2 separate regions of the Homo sapiens genome follow, and region 2 is linked to region 1. Evidence: promoter capture Hi-C in human tissues and cell types (Jung and others, 2019). All regions are on one chromosome and are shown on one strand. The core of a region is centred on a gene start or on the middle of the fragment in contact, and the rest is flanking DNA. Distances in the headings are between cores, read along the strand shown. Region 1 holds the start of RSPH3 (radial spoke head 3). Region 2 has its middle 88 kb from the start of SOD2.

What was found. Contacts are between HindIII fragments. The study calls those that stand out against the background at their distance.
Region 2: a fragment that was not itself captured here is called in contact with the fragment with the promoter of RSPH3 in region 1 in 1 of the 25 tissues and cell types used here (H1 embryonic stem cells).

What each region holds. Positions count from the first base shown.
Region 1 is chr6:158,998,334-159,001,888 of GRCh38, forward strand. It overlaps RSPH3 (radial spoke head 3), which reads right to left and starts at 1,869. Exons shown (of 8, transcript NM_031924.8): 1 at 1,102-1,869. The coding sequence starts at 1,217. It overlaps TAGAP-AS1 (TAGAP antisense RNA 1), which reads left to right and starts at 1,540. Exons shown (of 5, transcript NR_183546.1): 1 at 1,540-2,059. RefSeq lists enhancers at 612-1,583, 1,068-1,217, 1,238-1,287, 1,318-1,387, 1,558-1,717 and 2 more. The HindIII fragment of the contact is 9,808 bases long and covers 1-3,555 here.
Region 2 is chr6:159,603,943-159,607,497 of GRCh38, forward strand. No RefSeq gene overlaps it. Among named protein-coding and RNA genes, the nearest start is that of SOD2, 88 kb to the right of the region's middle. The HindIII fragment of the contact is 4,798 bases long and covers 1-3,555 here.

The sequences.
Region 1 (3,555 bases), core at 619-3,118:
TGGCGGGCGCCTGTAGTCCCAGCTACTTGGGAGGCTGAGGCAGGAGAATGGCGTGAACCCGGGAGGTGGAGGTTGCAGTGAGCCGAGATTGTGCCACTGCACTCCAGCCTGGGCGACAGAGCGAGACTCCGTCTCAAAAAAAAAAAAAGAAAAAAAAAAAGGCTTATGTTTTGTTTTTTTTCTTTCCTATGTATGTTTGAATATTTGCAACTGTTCATGGATGTAAAAACACAAACTGCCGTCCGGGCGCGGTGGCTCACGCTTGTAATCCCAGCACTTTGGGAGGCCGAGGCGGGCGGATCACTTGAGGCCAAGAGTTTGAGACCAGCCTGGCCAACGTGGCAAAACCCTGTCTCTACTAAAAATACAAAGATTAGCCGGGGGTGGTGGAGGGCGCCTCTAGTCCCAGCTACTTGGGAGGCTGAGGCAGGAGAATCGTTTGATCGGGGAGGAGTGGGGGAGGGGGGCGGAGGTTGCAGTGAGCGGAGATCGCGTCATTGCAGTCCAGCCTGGGCGACAAGAGCGAAACTCCGTCTCAAAACAACAACAGCAACCACCACCACCACCACCACCACCACCACAAAAAACCAATCTGTGGTCCTGCATGGAAGAATAATCTTACTCCTGCTCAAAGCCTGCCGAAGAGATTTACTCGGCTCCCATTTTGGATATGCTACTGTTGGATATCTTTGCACCGCGGTCTCCTCATCTGCATAATGGAGTTATAAAATCAACTTCACAGCACTGTGGATTAACTAAGAAAACGTATTTGAATGCCCCCCGTAAGGTGCTCAGCACGTAGTTGGCCCTCAATACACACTGGTACAATTCAAACTTTGTGAAATGAGCCAATTCGTGTACATGTTAAGGACCACGGCAGCAACTCATATCACTAAAAGTTAACTGATGCCCAACCCATGCCCCTTCCTGCTTCACTCCTCCACACCACGGGAGATTCCTTAGGGCAGAACTTTTATTTCGGCAGAGTGCAGCCAAGGGAAGACAGCATAAGCAGCTTTTTTGCCAGGGCGAAGGGGCCAGACCCCGGCCTGGGGATGGGGTGCAAGTATGGACCACACAGGGGCTGGCTTGGTCACTCACGGCTGCGTCAGGCTGTCCCGGTAACGGCTGCGCTGGCAGGGCAGTGCTCGGGGCCGGCTGGTGTAGGTGTAGGTGCTCGGGGCCCGAGAGGTGCGATCAGTCAGCGCTGAGGCCATGTCCGGGGGCTGACTGCCTCGCTTTCGGTGGAGCTTGGCTTTGAAGCAGGTGGGCGCTAAGGTGTTGTGGGACCCGGAGAGATGTAAGTAGTGCCAAGGGCAAGGATTCCGCGACGCGAGGAGAGGCGACAACAAGGGAGGCGGGCGGGACGGGAGGTTACCAGCGCAGGAGGTGGGAGCTATACTGGGCTCGCTCCCAGCACCACAGAGACCAGCTGCGGGGGCCGCATCGGTTGCCCAGCAACCCAGGGTTCTGTCTGGGGGCGGGAACTCCGGGCAGTTCCGGTCCCCAGGTTTCCCGGGAAGGACTGCGGCACAAGGGACTTCCGGCTCTTGACTCCGCCCAGCCGCGCCACCCAGGTAGGTGCGCCTGCGCTTTGCGAGGTTCCTGGCTAGGGAGGCGGCCTTGGCTGGCTTGACCGTCATCCTTGAGGCCTGCGGGGCAACGGTGGCTGTCCTTGGCCCGGCTTTGGAATGTGGCTTTGCAGGGCTGGTGTTGGCGCCATTCTCGCAGGCCCACGTGCTCCTGCTCTTCCAGGGTGTCCTCGGCTGTTTCTCCTGCCGCGGCGCAGCAGCGCTCCCAGGCTGCCCCCGCGATAACACGCCCCTGGCAGCCAGGCTCCCAGCTCTGTTACGTGCCCGGGCGGGGAAGAGCTTCCTGGTGTCTCCCGGCTCCTGCCCTTCTCCCGCCCCAGGGGCGGGCTGCCGCCGCCCTCTGCAGCTGAGTCAGTGCAGTTCCTCACCTACCTTCTCTGCTCACCGCTGTGTGCTAGCAATCGGAGGACCCTTGGCACACGGAGCGACAGGGGCCTCCCCCACAGACACCTCATTTTGGGAAAGAAGTGAGCAATTTATTGAGTCTTAAAAAATACAAAGGCATAGTTCCCCTTAATCTATCAGGCTTCCAGCTCTAAAGAATGTCTCTAGTATTGCGGGGTGGGGCTGCGCTTAAAAACGCAGACGCTTTGGTTTTAGTACCAGCAACGTTAAAAATCTTCTATCTTGTATGAGTGAATGTGTATCCCTTGTGATCAGTTATTTGCATTTGCAGTTACACCTTCATTCAGCTAATTGCTGTCTTGATTTGAATCCAGGTTCTAGAATGTACTAGCTCCGAAACCTCAGGCAAGTTAAATGTTTTTGTGCTTCATTTTCCTAATCCACAAAGTGGCAATAGAAGAATTTATCTCTTTAGGTTTTGTCTTGAGGATTAAAACCGTTAATACTTAGAGCTGTGCCTGGTAAATGGCAAGCCTTTATATTAAGATCTGGACCGTTCTGTGCTTTGAAGTGTATGACCTAAAGCAGATGTAGGCATTCTATAAGTAACACTAGCATAAAGGTGTATGGTAAATTCTAGAGGTGAAAACACTCCCAACATATTTTAGGTCTGATCATTTAATTTTGAGGTAATTTCTGAAAGGGCTAGAGGAGAAAGTGACATTTAAGTTGTGTTTGATAAATGATAGTATTTTAACTGGCCAGCCTCTTGGGGGAAGTGCATTCGGAATGGCTTGATCAAAGGCTCAAGAAGCCCAAGGTGCATTTGGAAAACTGTAAGCAAGGTTTGTGTAGATGAGTTGTAGAAATATATATAGACAGGCTGACACCACATCGTGGAAACAGTAAACACTAGCATATTAATTAGAATATTTTTTCCCTCAAGTAACAAAAAACCAATTCCAAGTGGCTGAAATAATAAGGAATTCATTATTTTACACTCCCCAGGTTGGTTAACCTGGAGGGTAACTTGGGGGCTCAGCACATTATCAACAACACGTTTTTTCCCCTACCTTTCCACTCTGTCACCTGGGTTGTTGGCTTCAACAAAGTAGTAATAGAAGTATCTGCTCTTTTGTCTTTATTGGAAGAGCAAAACCCCCTCGTAAACTCCCAACTGACCAGAATTACATCATATTGATTTAAGCTTAGGATCTATATAAGACCACCATATTTGGATTAGACCAGGTAACCGGTCTTTCTAGGCCTCCAAGAAACACTTGGCCAGGGAGGAGGAGAACAAATTCTGTTAGGAGGATGTTGGGGCAGAATTGAGTGGGTATTAAGTGGGTAAACAATAGTGCTATACCAGCCACAGTGGGCTTTATAAAGAAATTGATAGCCACTATAGGTTCTTGTACAAGTTTCTTTCTTTTTTTTTTTTTTTAGATGGAGTCTCGCTCTGTGGCCAGGCTGGAGTGCAGTGGCGCGATCTTGGCTCACTGCAACCTCCGCCTCCCCGGTTCAAGTGGTTCTCCTGCCTCAGCCTCCTGAGTAGCTGGGACTACAGGCGTGTGCCACCCCGTCCAGCTAATTTCTGTATTTTTAGTAGAGGCGG
Region 2 (3,555 bases), core at 579-3,078, 610 kb after region 1:
AATGTGTACAGCAACCCCCCGGGACACGTGTTTACCTATGGAACAAACTTTCACATGCGCCCCCAAACCTAAAATAAACATTAAACAAATAAAAATAGAAATAGGATGGAATTCTGCTTTGCCTCCTTAACATTATGAGTTTTTTCATAATCTTCTATTTTGTGTGTCTGATATTTGAATCTTTGAAATGTTTGATCATTTCAAACACCAGCTCTATCTTCTCCCTCATCATGGGTATCATGTTATGGAATTCACTTCTCCCTTCTTCTCTGCACACTTAAAGGTCTTCACAAAAATGTTTAAATCTCTTTACCCCCTTTTGTCTATGAAGTTCTTTATCCCATAGAAGGGGTGACAGGCTAGGAGGCTGAAGGACATCATGCATTCTGACAGAGAAATAACACTTTCACTACAAACTGAAAAATGTACCCTCTTGAGTCAGTATTTCCCTCGTGCTATTTACACAGTCCTATGAAATAAGGAAACGTGGAAAGATCACTCTACCTTGAGGGCCCAGAAGAGTGAGCGATGGCCCTCTGGCTTCAGGGGAGCCCATGGTTAGCAGGCCACTTAACAGGAGAAGCCCTTCCTGGTTTAAAACTTCATCTGTTTCATGTTATCCTCATTTCTTTCCAGACCATTCTTCACCCTCCTTGCCTTCTCCCTACTGGCATCTCAGGCCTGACGTCACGGCTGTGTGTGAGGTGTAAATGTGTGTAGTGTGAATGTGTGTGTGGCGTGAATATATATGTGGTGGATGTGTGGTGTGTGGTGTGTATAGTATGTATGTGTATGTGGTGTGTGGTGTGAACGTGTGTGCAGTGTGTGTGTGTGGTGTGAATGTATATGTGGTGCATATGTGGTGTGTATAGTATGTATGTGTATGTGGTGTGTGGTGTGAACGTGTGTGTGGTGTGTGTGTGTGGATGATAGGGGTGGTGTGTACATGGTGTGGTGTGTGTGTGTTTGTGGGTGGGTGTGTGTGTGTGTAGGGGGATGTTCCTCTGGTTCTCACAGCCGCCATGTCAATGTCTTGTTGACGCAAACCTCTGTCTTGGAAGTCAGCTTCTGTCTCCACTGCCAGGTTTCTTGGAGCTTTTAATATGCCAGTGTGCATCATGGAATGTAGTACTTGACACAGGTGCTTATTGGCAGGCAGGGGCCCTGCTGGTCCCAGCCATCAAGTTATCTCTTCTTCTTTAATGTGATGAATACACCTCTTTTGGAAGCCCTATGTTGCCCTCAGAATCACCAAGGAGCATGCAGTTAGTGAGCAAAAATTAAATACCAGCCTCTGGCAAACCTAAATCCAAATATGTCCCCATTACTAAGTACAGTATAGTAGCCCTATAGGCAATGGATGGGACTAACTGCATATAAATGACCAGCTTTGTCACCCAGGTTAGAGTGCAATGGCATGATCTTGGCTCACTGCAACCTTTGCCTCCTGGGTTCGAGCAATTCTCTTGTCTCAGCCTCCTGAGTAGCTGGGATTATAGGCATGCACCACCATGCTTGGCTAATTTTGTACTTTTAGTAGAGACGGGGTTTCACCATGTTGATCAGGCTGGTCTAGAATTCCTGACCTCAGGTGATCCACCTGCCTCAGCCTCCCAAAGTGCTTTCTATCAGAGCATTTTGGAACTTAAAAGTTGTCCTCACTGTTGAGTTGTAAAGATACTTGTCTCAATGGATTAGCATCCTACGTGTTCTGCCCTGAAATGTAACCTTAGATAGAAATCTAAGCTTGAACACCCATTGCTCTGCAAGTCCAGGACAAGAGTCTATTGCCAAAACCCTAGCTGAGTTTTCCAGAAAGAGCCCATCTGAAGACTAGGGATGTTCTATCTTCCTCTAATTGCCTCCTAACCTCTTCCCCATTCCACCCTACCAGATCATTCCATAATGGAGGAGATGAATGCTTTTATAATCCATTAGAGGAAACCCATAGAGGCCTCACCCAAAGCAGATCTGCAGTGAGCATTTGTGTCTAATAAAGATGCTGAAAACTGCCAACTCACCCTCATCAGAACCAGGTGAACAAAAAAAGGGGAAGGGTACTTAATGTGTGTAAGCAGTGCCAGGCAGTGACATAAGATAACTTGTTTGTACCACAAACAGTTCCAAAACATAGGCTTCATTATCTGTTTTACAAATAAGAAAACTCAAGCTCAGAAAGGCTATTTATTTACTTTTTATTATTATTATTATTATTATTATTATTATTATTATTATTATTATTAGAGATGGGATCTCACTGTGTTGCCCAGGCTGGTCCTGAATGCCTGGATTCAAGTGATCCTCCTGCCTTGGCCTCCCAAAGTGTTGGGATTATAGGCATGAGCCACCATGACCAGCCAAAAAGGCTACGTAATTTGTTTATGATCACAGCATTAAAAAAGCCATAATTTGAATTCAAGTTTATTTCTCACCTAGAAGCTTAAACTAATTCCACTATATCCGCTGCTCTGTGCGGTACTTGTTTACGAGGCAAATGAGAATAGAAATGGTTTTTTGGATCAACACCTTTAACCAGGTTGGAGTTTCCTTCTATTTTTAGTTAACTGAGAGATGTTATCATAAATGAATACTGAATCTGACAATGCTTTCTCTTGGTCTATTGCAATGAAAACATGATTTGACTTTAGGTTTTTTTTTTTGTTTTTGCTATGATATTTTGTTGTTTTTGTTTTAGTTTGTTAATGTGGTGAATTATACAGTTTGATTTTTACATTTTAAACCAATTTTGCATTCCTAGGATAAACTCCAGTTGGCTATAACATGTCATTCTTGTTATATATTGTTGGATACAATTTACTAAAAATTTGTTAAGAATTTCTGTAACTATTCTCATGATGATATTAGTCTGTAGTTTTCTTATAATGTCTTTGTCTGGTTTTATTATCCTTTATCATTTATTATAAGGTAATGCTAGCTTCACAGTGTGACATACGAAGTACTCTCTTCTTTAATTGTCTGGAAGAATTTGGGTAGAACTGGAATAATTTTTTTTGTAAATAATTGGTATGACTCATCAGTGAAACCATCTGTGCTTGAAGTTTTCTATGTGGGAAATTTTATAGCTACGAATTCAATGTTTTTAATACATACAGGACTATTTAAGTCATCTATCTCTTTTTGAGTGAGCTTTGGTAATTTACATCTCTCAAGGAATGTGCCCATTTCATCTAAGTTGTCAAATTTATTGGCATAAAATTGTTCACAATAGTCCTTTATTATCTTTTAATATCTGTAGAATCTGTAATGATATCACATCTCTCATTTTTTCTATTGGCAATTTGTGTCTTCTGTCTTTTTTTCCTGGTCAGTATGGCTAAGATTTATTAATTTTATTAATTTTTCTCAAAGATAAATATTCTCTATTGTTTTTCAAGTATATATTTTATTAATTTCTTTATTATTTCCTCTCTTCTACTTACTTTGAAATTAATTTGCTTTTTAAGAAATCGTTTGTTTCCTGAGTTGGAAAGTGAAGTCATTGATTTAAGACTTCTCTTCTTTTCTGATATAATTTAGTGCCCTAACTTTCCCAAG